2 separate regions of the Homo sapiens genome follow, and region 2 is linked to region 1. The links are contacts of gene promoters, found by promoter capture Hi-C in blood cells and fetal thymus (Javierre and others, 2016). All regions are on one chromosome and are shown on one strand. Each heading gives the region's core, a stretch centred on a gene start or on the middle of the fragment in contact. The rest is flanking DNA. Distances are from core to core; before and after follow the strand shown. Region 1 holds the start of UBN2 (ubinuclein 2). Region 2 overlaps ZC3HAV1 (zinc finger CCCH-type containing, antiviral 1).

Region 1 (6,085 bases), core at 678-3,177:
CACAGAGAAATGATTGTCGGGTATGCAATTTATCATGATGTCAGACTAAGATTAAAGAAGAATTTATTACTATGCAGAACATGCATACGCATTATTACTATTCATGACTGCCTATATATCTGAACTAGGGTTTTCAATTTTGATCAGTTTAGAAGAAGAAAAAGATCAGGCACCACAGTGGATCAGATGTTCATGTACCACTGTCCTAATGAATTCTGGAGTGCAATAAACCTATGATCAGGCAAGAACTTCCATGGCATTAAATAAAATCTTTCCTAATTTGCTTCTATATGATGTTAACATTTTTTTCTACACTGTATTATAAAATATTTTATATTAAATTAACTCTGTTGCGTCTGTTGCTTTTACTTTATCCTAAGCAGTAGGTAAGTATTGTGAAACTTATATTTCACATATGCACATATGTGTTATGTATATATGGGTGTATATTCTAGGTTACAGTGTAAAATGTCTTACTGTGGGTTATGGATCAAAAAGTTGGAAAACTCAGTGGGTGAGAAGTTAGAAGATAATGTTGGATAAGTAACACACCTGTAGAAGGATTTGGCCCACAGACCACCAGTTTGCAGTCTCTGAGCTAAATTGTGGAGGATATTGAATATGAGTATACATACATAGAACTCAGTTTGTAGGTAAGTTGCAGCCAGAACAGAGAACGATATAATAAAAACTCTTTTAGAGACATTAATATGACCCCGTCTCAAGACTGGTGGGAACAGAGACTGAAGGCAGAAAGGTCATTTAAGTATCACTAAGGCAATCTAAAAATGAGACCCGAATTCAGAATCAGAAAAGGAGCAATAGGGAAGGAGATAATGTAGGTAAAACATGGCGCCGAGTAGAAAAGATAGGGTTTTAGAGCTGGGAGAGACCTTTGGAATCATAGATTTCATCACCATCTTCGTCCAAGTAGGGAAAGTAATAACAGGAGAGGAAAAAACGGAACCCTCTCAGAATTTGTCAATGACGTCACACTGACTTAATAAAAGAGCTTTCAATAGTTAATGCAATTAACAGAAGGCTTGGATTCCCTTCAGGATGTGAAGGGCGAGCCCTCAAATTTACTTTTTATTCAATGGATTAAAATGGCCAGTAATTCTTATCCTTTTAAACCCGACTTCCAATTAATTAATTACAAGTGAGCCTATGGGGCGTGCCCAATCAATTCCTTCCCCATCCTGAAATGGGTCCTTTAGCATTCTCATAAACAGTACGTTTCCTGAAATACCACTAAACCCTCTTAAGAAGTTTTCTATGATTTCAGCAGTTTAGGCCTTCTGAATGAGCCCAGAACTCCTCATCTGCTTGTTAATTTTCCAACTGCAAAGCGTTATTGAACATTTAATGACCCTGCCCCACGCAACGCCCACTGCGGCCGGGCGAGGGAAACCGGAGTAGGTCGAGGAAGGGGAGGCCTGCGCTTTCGGGAGGGAAGCCGCTGGGGCTAGTCTGGCTGAAGCTGGGCACTTCCTTTTTTCCCTCGATACTTAAGGCTACGGGGACACAGGGCGGGCAGGCACAACGGCTGGCGCGTCTCTCTACCCTTGCCCAGAGTCCGCCTTGAATAATCAGCTAACAACCCCAATTCCCTTGAACCCAGCACGGGAGACCCGGCGCCAATGGCTAGGTCGGTCTCAGTCCCATCCCGATGCTAGCCCCGGGAAGCTCCTGGAGCGCCTCTGGTTTCCGGGTGCGAATAGTAAACTGCTCGGGAAACCCCAGAACCCTCCCTTTGAGGAAGGGTGCAGACGGCGTCTCCGTTTCCACGGAAACAGGCCGAGCCATGTCGTCACTTCCGCCGACCTGTCTGGACTCCAGACTGTTGGGAGGAAAAGAGGAAAACTGAGCAACAGCCACGACAGTGGACGCGAGCGTCTCCTCTGTGCGCATGCGCCCGCTCAGCGGCCTGCTTCTATTTATGTGGGGGATCCAACATGGCGGCCGCGGCGACCCTGGCGATGGCGGTGAAGCCCATCAGAACGTAGTAGCGGGGAAGGGGACACGGTCCGCACTCACCGTGGCGCCGGCGGAGACGGCTGAGGGTGGTGGAGGGAAGAAAAGCGACAGAGAGCAAGAGGAAGGGCGGGCAGGCACGCAGCGCGCCGTAGAAGCGAGCGCCGGCTCGAGCAAAAGCGGAGGGCCAGAACAGTGGGGATGGCGGAGCCGCGCAGAGTAGCGTTCATTAGCTTGTCACCGGTGCGGCGGCGCGAGGCCGAGTACCCGGGGCCCGAGCGTGAGCCCGAGTACCCCCGCGAGCCCCCCCGGCTGGAGCCGCAGCCGTACCGCGAGCCGGCCCGGGCGGAGCCGCCGGCCCCGCGGGAGCCTGCCCCCCGCTCGGACGCGCAGCCCCCGTCGCGGGAGAAGCCGCTCCCCCAGCGCGAGGTCAGCCGCGCCGAGCCGCCCATGTCGCTGCAGCGGGAGCCCCCGCGGCCCGAGCCGCCGCCGCCGTTCCCGCCGCTGCCCTTGCAGCCGCCCCCGCCGCGGGAGTCGGCTTCCCGGGCTGAGCAGCCGCCGCGGCCGCCGAGGGAGACGGTGCGCCTGGAGCTGGTGCTTAAGGACCCCACCGACGAGAGCTGCGTGGAGTTCAGTTACCCGGAGCTGCTGCTGTGCGGAGAACAACGGGTACAGAAGATTCTTCCCTCCTGCCCCAGACCCCGGGAGCCTCAGGACCCGCCGCCTTCCCCAGCTGGTTTGCACCTTGGGACGCCCACCGAGCGCGTCCGGGTCGCCCCGAGGGTGGGGTGCGGGGGGCCGGGGCCGAGCGGGTGGACGGGGCGGTGAGCGCTGCTTTCTCCACTCCCCAGGGTGGCCGAGGCTCTCACCCGGCTGCGCCGAATCCCCAAACCCCCGGCACTCGCTCCCAACGCCGCGCCGAGCTCGTTTTCTTGTGCACCTTTCGGAACCTCAGATTTTCCTTCTTTCCTTTCTGCTCCCCACACAAAATCCTGGGGCCCTGCAGGCCGTGTGGCTGGGTTCTCCCTGTGGCGCTACAGCTGTCGTTCCAGTAGAAAGGAAGAGAAAACCTTGGGGGACACGCCCCCCAGTCTGAAGCAGAGATTGTGTAACCCCTCTCGTATCATCCTCATCCTCATCACTGTTTGTTTTGCTGGGCGCCGTGGCTGCTGAGGTGTGCTTGCGTGCCTGTGATATTTTTCTTAATCGAAGGGAATTTAAGAATAATTAAAGGTTTTCAGAGACTAAGGATCCCACTTTAGGAATGGAGAAGTGGGTTAGTTAATCTGGTTACTAATTTTTCTCTCGTGTTGGTATTGGAAAACCTTTTTAGCTTTCCTTTTTTGTGGAGTTCGTTCATATTGTAATTGAATGGGAAGGTGTCTCCTGTTTTATTTGACACCTACCCGTCATATTATTTAAGTGTACTATCATTAGTTTATAGAAGGATATTGTATTCAGCCTTTGTAATTTTCGGAGGATGATGAAAAAAATGTCAGCTTTGAATTTTTTAAAATAATTGAAAATATATAGGTATGCTTTTGATGTAAGAGGTGAACAATGGAGAAAGGATAGGGGTTATGTTCGTAATTGTAATTTTTATTGTTGTGGGTTGGTGGATCTTCAGAAGTAAGTTAGAAAAGGAAATGATAGATTAACAGTAAGGAAAGAGAACAGTTTTCTCTGTTGCTTAGCAATTATACCCGTTATTAGGTTTTGCTTTAGCTTGAGTCTAATGGACTCCAGAAGTCCCTTGTTTTGTTTTCATCTTCAACTACCTTTATGGTCAAAATGACTGACTGCTTAGTCACAAAGTATCATGTTGAACAATTTCACTAGGTTTTGTTTACTTCATGGCCAGCTAATGTTTTGATCATTATTTAGAAATGTTATGTGGTCAAATCATTACAAAATGTTTTCAACCAAAATGAATTGTTTAAAGGTAGAGATCATTTTGGTCACTTCCACCTAACATTTTGCTCGTCAGACTCACTTGAATGCCCCTTCTTTATAAATCTGAGGTCACTTTTTTCCCAAAAGAATATTAAAAATATTGGATTGGAGCATTTTTCAAACATTGTATTTGAGCTGCTAATCTAAGTTGGTTTGCAGTTTTTGTAATTTTCATAAATTACAGGAGAAAAGCATTATCTTTGGATAAAAATACATAGCAATAACGACATTTACTGGTTCTTACTGTGTGCTAGACACAGTTCTAAGCACTGCACATGGTTTTTCTAGTAGTCCAACAGAACTCCACGAGGTAAAAACTATTATCCTCACTTTACAAATGTATGTAATTTTATTAGTACTTCTTTCCATAGTGATACAATTTGTTAGTAAAACAAAATTTCTTAAAATTAACTCATATAGTTTAGAGGATTCTGCCAAAATGACGTAAAATGTAAGTCGCAGTAGAAATACAAAGACCTTTATTATGTCTCTGTTTATGCTGTAATATTCACACGATGGCAAATTAATAATGTGTATCATTTAATTATAAAAAGAAAAAGGTTTGACACCCTAGCTTTGTTAACTTGATAACACCAGAACTACTACTTTCATGCAATAGGAGAAAGAGGAAAAATTCCATTTAATTTTTCTGTATACTTATTAACAGTATAGGTGTCTATTGGCCCAATTATCTCGTATATCAACCTTCTATTTTTTTCATATACCTCTGAACAAAACAAAATCCATTGTATATAATCACCTTTGCAACAAAGATTTGCCACATTTTCCTGTGATTGCTGCCAGTGTATATCCTTATTATGCAAGAAAGCATAGAAAACATATGTTTAAGTAAAATTGTCATGGTTTCATGAAAGGAAATCCTAGAAGAGAGACCATCAAAAAGCAAAATGCGAACATTAGAATTGGTCTGGAAAGTTGGTGGTTCCCAAAATTAGAAGAATTAGAAAAGGAAGGGCTCCACATTTTTGAAATAGCCATCTATCACTAAATAAGATTTTAGCTCCAGATGCTGAAATTGGTAGATGTGGGGCTATTAAAAAAAAACAAACAACAAAAGGTGTGTTACATATGGATACCATTCATGTGGGTGCATTTAAATCAGTTCCCTTCTTAAATACTAAATGAACAGTAAAACCCTGATTTACTGGAACATAATCAGAAATTTTTCTATGCTCTATTTGTATTAATGAGGAAAGCACAATTAAATAATTTATGTTGGGAAAATAGGAAAAACAAAACCACAGGTTAGCTAAACCTTTAACCTTATTGTCTCTAGGCAGTACAGTGCTGTGATTGAGATGGTTTAGGATGATGACTGGCATTGGAATCATCTCTATCCTGAAAGATTAATTTGGTCACCATTTCTGGCTAAAGGGTAATAGTGCATTTTAGAAATAAATTTTGGCAATGATTGATACACAAGAAAAGGTTTAACTCTTAGTAAACCAGAAAAATCAGTTAACCAGAACACCCATTTGTGAACATGCTTAATTGAACATTTACTGTAAAAAGAAAAATAAGTGATTAAGTGTGTTAATGTAACTATACTATTTGAGAATTCCATGGTATTTCATTGTTTGCGTATTTTTGATGAAATTTGTGAAAGACCTCCTGAAAATGGTGTTGATGAGTTAAGATCAAAGGACAAAATTATTGCATCAGTTTTGCATGTGGGTAGTTGATAATTTTCAGATTTTTTTTCACCTGAAAAAACAAAAAAGCTTAATCTTGATTGGGGGAGGGTGTTTATTCTTAACTGTGAAAGAAAAGTGAGTCCATTTTCTTAAATTTGTTTTTGTAGGCTGTCAAGAGAAAATAAGAGCTGTACTTTTGATACCTACATAAAATACATAAAATATTTTAGAATGGCATATAAGGTGATTCTTATTAAAAATATAGATCCATGTGTTTATATTTATACATATAAAATGAGTCATACCATAGTAAGTATTTGGGCTTCACAGTGCAAGAGGGAGCAGTTTGTAATAGGCATGGCGATTGCTTACTGTCCTTAACCTGAGCCTCTGGTTAAGGCTACACCCTGGACATGCCTAGGATTCCTTATTAGTTTATTCTCACTAGTTTATTCCCTTTTGGATCATGTTTATGTTTTTCATTGGTAAATTTTTATTTTTAT
Region 2 (6,498 bases), core at 703-3,202, 180 kb before region 1:
GGAGTCTCGGCTGGTGTGCAATGGCATGATCTCAGCTCACCGCAACCTCTGCCTCCCGGGTTCAAGCGATTATCCTGCCTCAGCCTCCCAAGTAGCTGGGATTACAGGCATGGGCCACTGCACCCAGCTAATTTTTGTATTTTTAGTAGAAACGGGGTTTCACCATGTTGACCAGGCTGGTCTTGAACTCCTGACCTCAAGTGATCTGCCTGTCTCGGTCTCCCAAAGTGCTGGGATTACAGGCGAAGCTGCCGCGCCTGACCTGGATCTGTTATTTTTCTCTATAGCAGCCCAACATTTGCAATCATTTAATTTTTTTTTTTTTTTTTTTGAGACAAAATGTTGCTCTGTCGCCCAGGCTAGAGTACAGTGGCACAATCACAGCTCACTGCAGCCTCAAACTTCTGGGCTCAAGCAATTCTCCCACCTCACCCTGCTGAGTAGATGGGACTACAGGCATGTGCCATCATGCCCAGGTAATTAAAAAAATTTGTTTGTAATTAAAACAAAAAATTAGATAAGGTCTCGCCATGTTGCCCAAGCTGGTCTCCAACTCCTGGGCTCAAGTGATCCTCCCACCTCAGCCTCCCAAAGTACAGGAATTACAGGTCTAAGCTACCATGCCTGGCCACAGTCATTTAATTAATTATGTAAGATAATTATGCAAAATGTGTTTGGGGCCATGTCTAACTTGTTCACCACTGTGTACCCACCATCTAGTGTACAGAAGACACTCAAAAATATTTGCTGACTGGCTGATTGACTTCTTGCCTTTTGGGGCAAGAATTGAATTTAATCCTAGTTGTATGAGTTGAACTCACTTTGAATCTGTGATAAACTATTACTTATTTCCTAAAGATGACTGATTCTTAGTTTTTTTTTTGTTTTTTTAATTTTCTAGTTTTTATTTATGAAGTTAATTCCCTCAAACATTAAGCTAAGTGTGAAGTGCAGTTTTTAGTAAGCTTGCTTATTAGTTAAAAATGGACAATAAACATTTACATTCATAAATATTTCTCTTTTTTTCTTTTTTTTTCATTTTATTGTTATTTTACTTTAAGTTTTAGGGTACATGTGCACAACGTGCAGGTTTGTTACATATGTGTACCTGCGCCATGTTGGTGTGCTGCACCCATTAACTCGTCACGTAGCATTAGGTATATCTCCTAATGCTATCCCTCCCCCCACCCCCCTCCCCTCTGGTTTGTTTGTTTTTAAGAGTTGCATGCAGGCCAGGCGCAGTGGCTCACACCTGTAATCCCAGCACTTTGGGAGGCCAAGGCAGGCAGATCCCCTGAGGTCAGGAGTTCTAGACCAGCCTGACCAACATGGAGAAACCCAGTCTCTACTGAAAATACAAAATTAGCTGGGCGTGGTGGCACATGCCTGTAATCCCAGCTACTTGAGAGGCTGAGGCAGGAGAATCACTTGAACCAAGGAGGTGAAGGTTGCAGTGAACCGAGATCGAGCCATTGCACTCCAGCCTGGGCAATAAAAGCGAAACTCTGTCTCCAAAAAAAAAAAAAAAAAAAAAAAGAGTTGCATGCATCCAGGAGCAGTGGCTCATGCCTGAAATCCCAGCACTTTGGCAGGCCAAGGTAGGCGGATTATTTGAGCTCAGGAGTTGAGACCAGCCTTGGCAACATGGCGAAACCCTGTCTCTATAAAAAATACAACAAAAAAAAATTAGCTGGATGTGGTGGCACACACCTGTTGTCCCAGTTACTTGAGGGGCTGAAGTTGTAGGATCACTTGAGCCCAGGAGGTTGAGGCTGCAGTGAGCCGAGATTGTCACCCAAACTGGGTGACAAAGTGAGACCCTGTCTCAAAAAAAAAAAAAAATTGGATGCAAGAGTTTAGGAGCAAAAAGAAAGAGCTATAAAGATTTTGTGTGTGGGCAGACCTGTGACACTTCAGACCGAGGTGACCCAGTGTGGCCTGAGATGGGGAGAGGCCTCTTCTCCCGCTCTTTAATTAAAACCAATCTGTGACAACTGAAGCCTCATATAGCTTCGCAGGCATGGACATGGGTTCAGGAAGAGCCAAGCCAGAAGTGAGTAGTAATGGTAGACAACAAGACCAACAGATGGAGTAGTTTACAAGCACGTATGAAGACTTTGGTCACTCCCAGAAAGAAAACAGAAGACAGGGACTAAGGTCCAGCAATCAAGCTCCAAGTCAACTGATTCACTCTCATTTGGGCATTTGATATTACCGTGAGCTTACTGTCTCTCCAGGACCACTAGAGCCTGGACACTCTGGTTAATACAAAATAATTACATATACCTCCTAATAGAAGCACATATAAAGCCCGAGTTATGACTCTACTAGTTACGCTTCTCTATCCCGGCACTAACCTTTTCCGTATTTGTTTTCATGAGTTTCATGTAGGAAACTGTCAAAATTATTCGAACAGATAGATTCCACATAGGCACGGCTTGTCGCATAAAATAGGAGTTTTCCTTCTTCCTTCATCTGCGATTTCTTCCTAATATAAGAGATGTGAGACTTAACACGGAGACATCCCCTTCCCACTCCAGTTGATAACATTAATCCCAGCTAAAGTCTAATCATCTAAAAATTTCACTCCATCAGCTTTCACAACGGAGCTACTAACTTTAAGGCAGCAGCTGTACAATAATAAATTTATGAAAACTTTTAAAAGATAGACACATGAAATCATTGAATTGTAAAGCAGTAAGGCTGAGAGAGAGAAGCCAGAGTTGATAGAATGAAAAAAAAAAAAAAAGACTAGCGCCTAAAGGAACTGTTAACTACTAAAATAAATCAGTGAATATAAATCTCAAAGGACGGATATTAACTAATCCTTTCCGGTTTTATGTAAAGAAACACGATAACGTGGCCACCAACCATGTAAATTTATCCAGGAGCTCTGAGTTCTCGATCTTCTTTATCTTTTCAATCTTGAAATTTTTCATGGAAGCTTTAAAATGCTCACTTACTCTGACATATTCTGGATGTAGGTGATGGATCTCTGACAACTAATAAAGTTTAAAAATAGATAAATGTGAAATAGGAAACATTTAAAGCATGATACATCCACATATGTGCCCCCTTATGCCATGAAGTATTGTTACCAGGGTTCTTTCTAACAGCAGATAGGATGAGCTGGCTTAGGGTTCCCACATCTGCCAACTCATTCCCGTAATTAATCAGAGAGGCAGCGGGCCTGTCTGTCCAGGCCAACTGAAAGCTAGCAAAGCACTGTGCCTAAGGGAAAAGGGAAGTCCCCTGCAGTCTGAGTTAGTCCAGTAACCTCTTCCCAATGCAAGGGAAGAGGAATTGAGGTGCCATGCAGTCCAAGCAGACCAGCCTGCACAAAAGCTGAAGCCAGCATGGGGAGGCTAAGCAATCTAGGAATAGTTGTGATCCAACTAGGTTAAGTGACACAGTGAGGCACAGTTTGTTTGACTCCCATAGAAACTTGTTAATTGTAACTAACGGACAAGTCACTTTTACTCTGTGAGTTCTAGTTTTCTTGTCCATAAAATAGAGATGTTAATATCCATTTCACATGGCTGTTGCGAGGATCTGCCCAAATGAGACTGTGTGTGGCTGAACTCTGGAAACAATGAGGTGCCTTGTAGCAGTTAGGTGATCTCTGGGAAAGAGAACCATTAGATGACTGCCTTTCTACCTTGATCTAAGAGTGTTTGTTGTTGTTGTTTGTTTTTTGGAGACAGAGTCTCACTCTGTCGCCCAGGCTGCAGTGCAGTGGGCAGGAGTGCAGTGGCGCGATCTCGGCTCGCTGCAACCTCCGCCTCCCGGGTACAGGCAATTCTCCTGTCTCAGCATCCCAAGTAGCTGGGACTACAGGCTCATGCCGCCATGCCCGGCTAATTTTTTTGTATTTTCGGTAGAGACAGGGTTTCACCGTGTTGTCCAGGCTGGTTTCGAACTCCTGAGCTCAGGCAATCCACTCGCCTCGGCCTCCCAAAATGCTAGGATTACAGGGCTGAGCCACTGCACCCAGCCGATCTAAGAGTTTTGCGGGAGCAATTCATTCATCCAGACAAACACATACACTTGTAGCAAAGTACTTTTTCTAACTTTTAACAGACTCATCCACCAAACATGTAAAACCAAGTACCTTATATTTCTTTGAGGATAGGAAGCAAAAGTCCTCCTGAGGACGAAAGGTCGCAGTTAAAGACACTGACGAGGTCTTTGCTGGCTGATGGCTACAAATAAAGAGAAAGAATTCACTTAACTCTCTGCTCCACAGGCCCAAGTGATGTTTTCTCTTAACTTCCAGCCACTAGGCCAAGGATGCCTAGAGAAATACACAATATTTATTTCTGTATTTTTCTCTGGACTACATCCTCACATATTCCTGGTATAGATGTACCAGTAATCATGTCTTTTAAAAATGCTGCAACTATTCATAATCGGTCAATTAAATGCCATTTTCCTATTGACTTAAAATGTAAAAGTATTGACTCTTTTTTATATTTCTGCTCAACTTTCAAAGGTCCTAATGTGTTAGCATTAAGCAAATGTGTCTTACAGCTTCTTGGTCAAAGGATAAACGATTAAATATATTAGGAATTTAGAGGAAAGAATTCTGCCTTTCCAGTATGAACTGTATTTCAGGGTAACCATACCTGAGAAGTAATTTTCTTTTTCTATCCCATAGAGCTAAAGCTACCAGAAAAATTCTTCTTTATAGATGAATCACACTAATAGTTGCAAAAGAGTTGATAGAATTAGAAAACCACCATTTGGCAATACTTAATGACATCATGGTTCTAAACAATCATTATCATTAGCTACTAAAACCATTAAGTGAAAGATCAGATGAATAGTATAGTGGAATGATCAGACTGGAATGACCTGAACCTACTCTGTGATCTCCATCACTAAAAATAGGACAATCAGACACTGTATATCTCTTCATAAGATGGGACAGAACCACTGGTACGAAGCCATCAATTGTATAGCATACTTGACTCAAAACTGAACCTAAATCTAATCAGTTCCCTAAATCTAATGATCAATTTATAGAAATTACACATCAAATGACCCCATGAGGAAACAATTTGCTAATCTGTTTTGAGACAGAGTTTCACTCTGTCACCCAGGCTGAAGTACAGTGGTGTGATCATGGCTCACTATATCCTCAACCTCCTGAGCCCAAGTGATCCTCCCACCTCAACCTCCCAAAGTGCTAGGATTATAAGCATCAGCCAGCATGCCAGGTTAATTTTCTACATTTTGAATTTGGAAAATTCTATAGGTCAAATCACCTAGTCGTTGTTTTTATTGTTTTTTTTTTTTCCTTTTTCTTTTTCTTTTCTTTTCTTTTTTTTTTTTTTTGAGACAGTCTCACTCTGTTGCCCAGGCTGAGTACAATGGTGCAAAGACAGCTCAACCTCCTGGGCTCAAGTGATCCTCCCACCTCAACCTCTTGAGTAGCTGGGACCACAAGTGTGTACCACCACACCTGTCTAACTTTTTAAAAAGTTTTTGTAGAGATGGGGTCTCAACTCACCATGTTGCCCAGGCTGGTCTTAAACTCCTGGGCTCAAGCAATCCTTCTGCCTTGGCCTCCCAAAGTGCTAGGATTACAGGCATGAGCCACCACACCTGGCCTATCTGATTTCTTAAAAATGAAATTGCATGAAAAAAGTAGAGGAGGGGAAACTGTAGTAGACTAAAAGATATTTATGACACAAATCAACCAAACACAATGTACAGACCCTGCTTAGATACTGATTTGCAATACCTCAACTCTAAATAGTCATTGTTTAAGACAATGGGAAAACATAAAACGTGAACTGGGTATTAGATGATATTAAGGAATTATCATTAACTTTGTTACATAGGTTAATGATATTGTATTATGTTTTTTAAAACCTCTTACCTGTTAGGAAGACACCTAATATATATACAGGGAAATGATAACATGTATTGGATTTACATTAAAATATTCCAGCAAAAGAAAAAAAGTTAGGCCAGGTGTGGTGGCTCATCCCTATAATCCCAGCACTTTGGGAGGCCGAAGCAGGAGGATTGCTTGAGCTCTGGAGTTTAAGACCTGCCTGAGCAACACAGTGGGATCCCCCTCCCCATCTCTAGAAACATTTTTTTTAAATTATCCAGGTGTGGTGGTGCACGGCTGTAGTTGCAGCTACTCAGGAGGCTAAGGCAGGAGAATCACATGAATCCAGGTGTTTGAGGCTGCAGTGAGCCATGATCACACCACTGCACTCTAACCTGCATGCAGAGTGAGACTCTTTCTCAAAGAAAAAAAAAATTTAGAGGTGATGGTAGTAACAATATTGTTACCACTACTACAAATACGTTACAAAGATAGTAAAATATTGACAGTGTTTAAGTTGGATGATAGGTACTCAGGGGTTTATTATCAATTCTTTGTACTTTATGTTTGAAATTTTCCATGATCAAAACAATTACATTTTTTTTTTTTTTTTTTTTTTTTGAGACGGAGTCTCCCTCTGTTGCCCAGGCTGGAGT

The links. The method cuts DNA at HindIII sites, captures the fragments that hold promoters and counts their contacts. A CHiCAGO score of 5 or more calls a contact.
Region 2: a fragment that was not itself captured here is called in contact with the fragment with the promoter of UBN2 in region 1 in 1 of 17 cell types (neutrophils); the score reaches 5.2 in neutrophils.

What each region holds. Positions count from the first base shown.
Region 1 is chr7:139,229,310-139,235,394 of GRCh38, forward strand. UBN2 (ubinuclein 2) reads left to right here and starts at 1,928. Exons shown (of 18, transcript NM_173569.4): 1 at 1,928-2,643. The coding sequence starts at 2,176. RefSeq lists enhancers at 1,709-1,868, 1,949-2,088 and silencers at 2,259-2,508, 2,719-2,938, 2,885-3,144. The HindIII fragment of the contact is 12,885 bases long and covers 1-5,667 here.
Region 2 is chr7:139,051,094-139,057,591 of GRCh38, forward strand. It overlaps ZC3HAV1 (zinc finger CCCH-type containing, antiviral 1), which reads right to left. Exons shown (of 13, transcript NM_020119.4): 10 at 4,112-4,202; 11 at 2,872-3,002; 12 at 2,358-2,488. Among named protein-coding and RNA genes, the nearest start is that of MIR10399, 10 kb to the left of the region's middle. The HindIII fragment of the contact is 1,979 bases long and covers 964-2,942 here.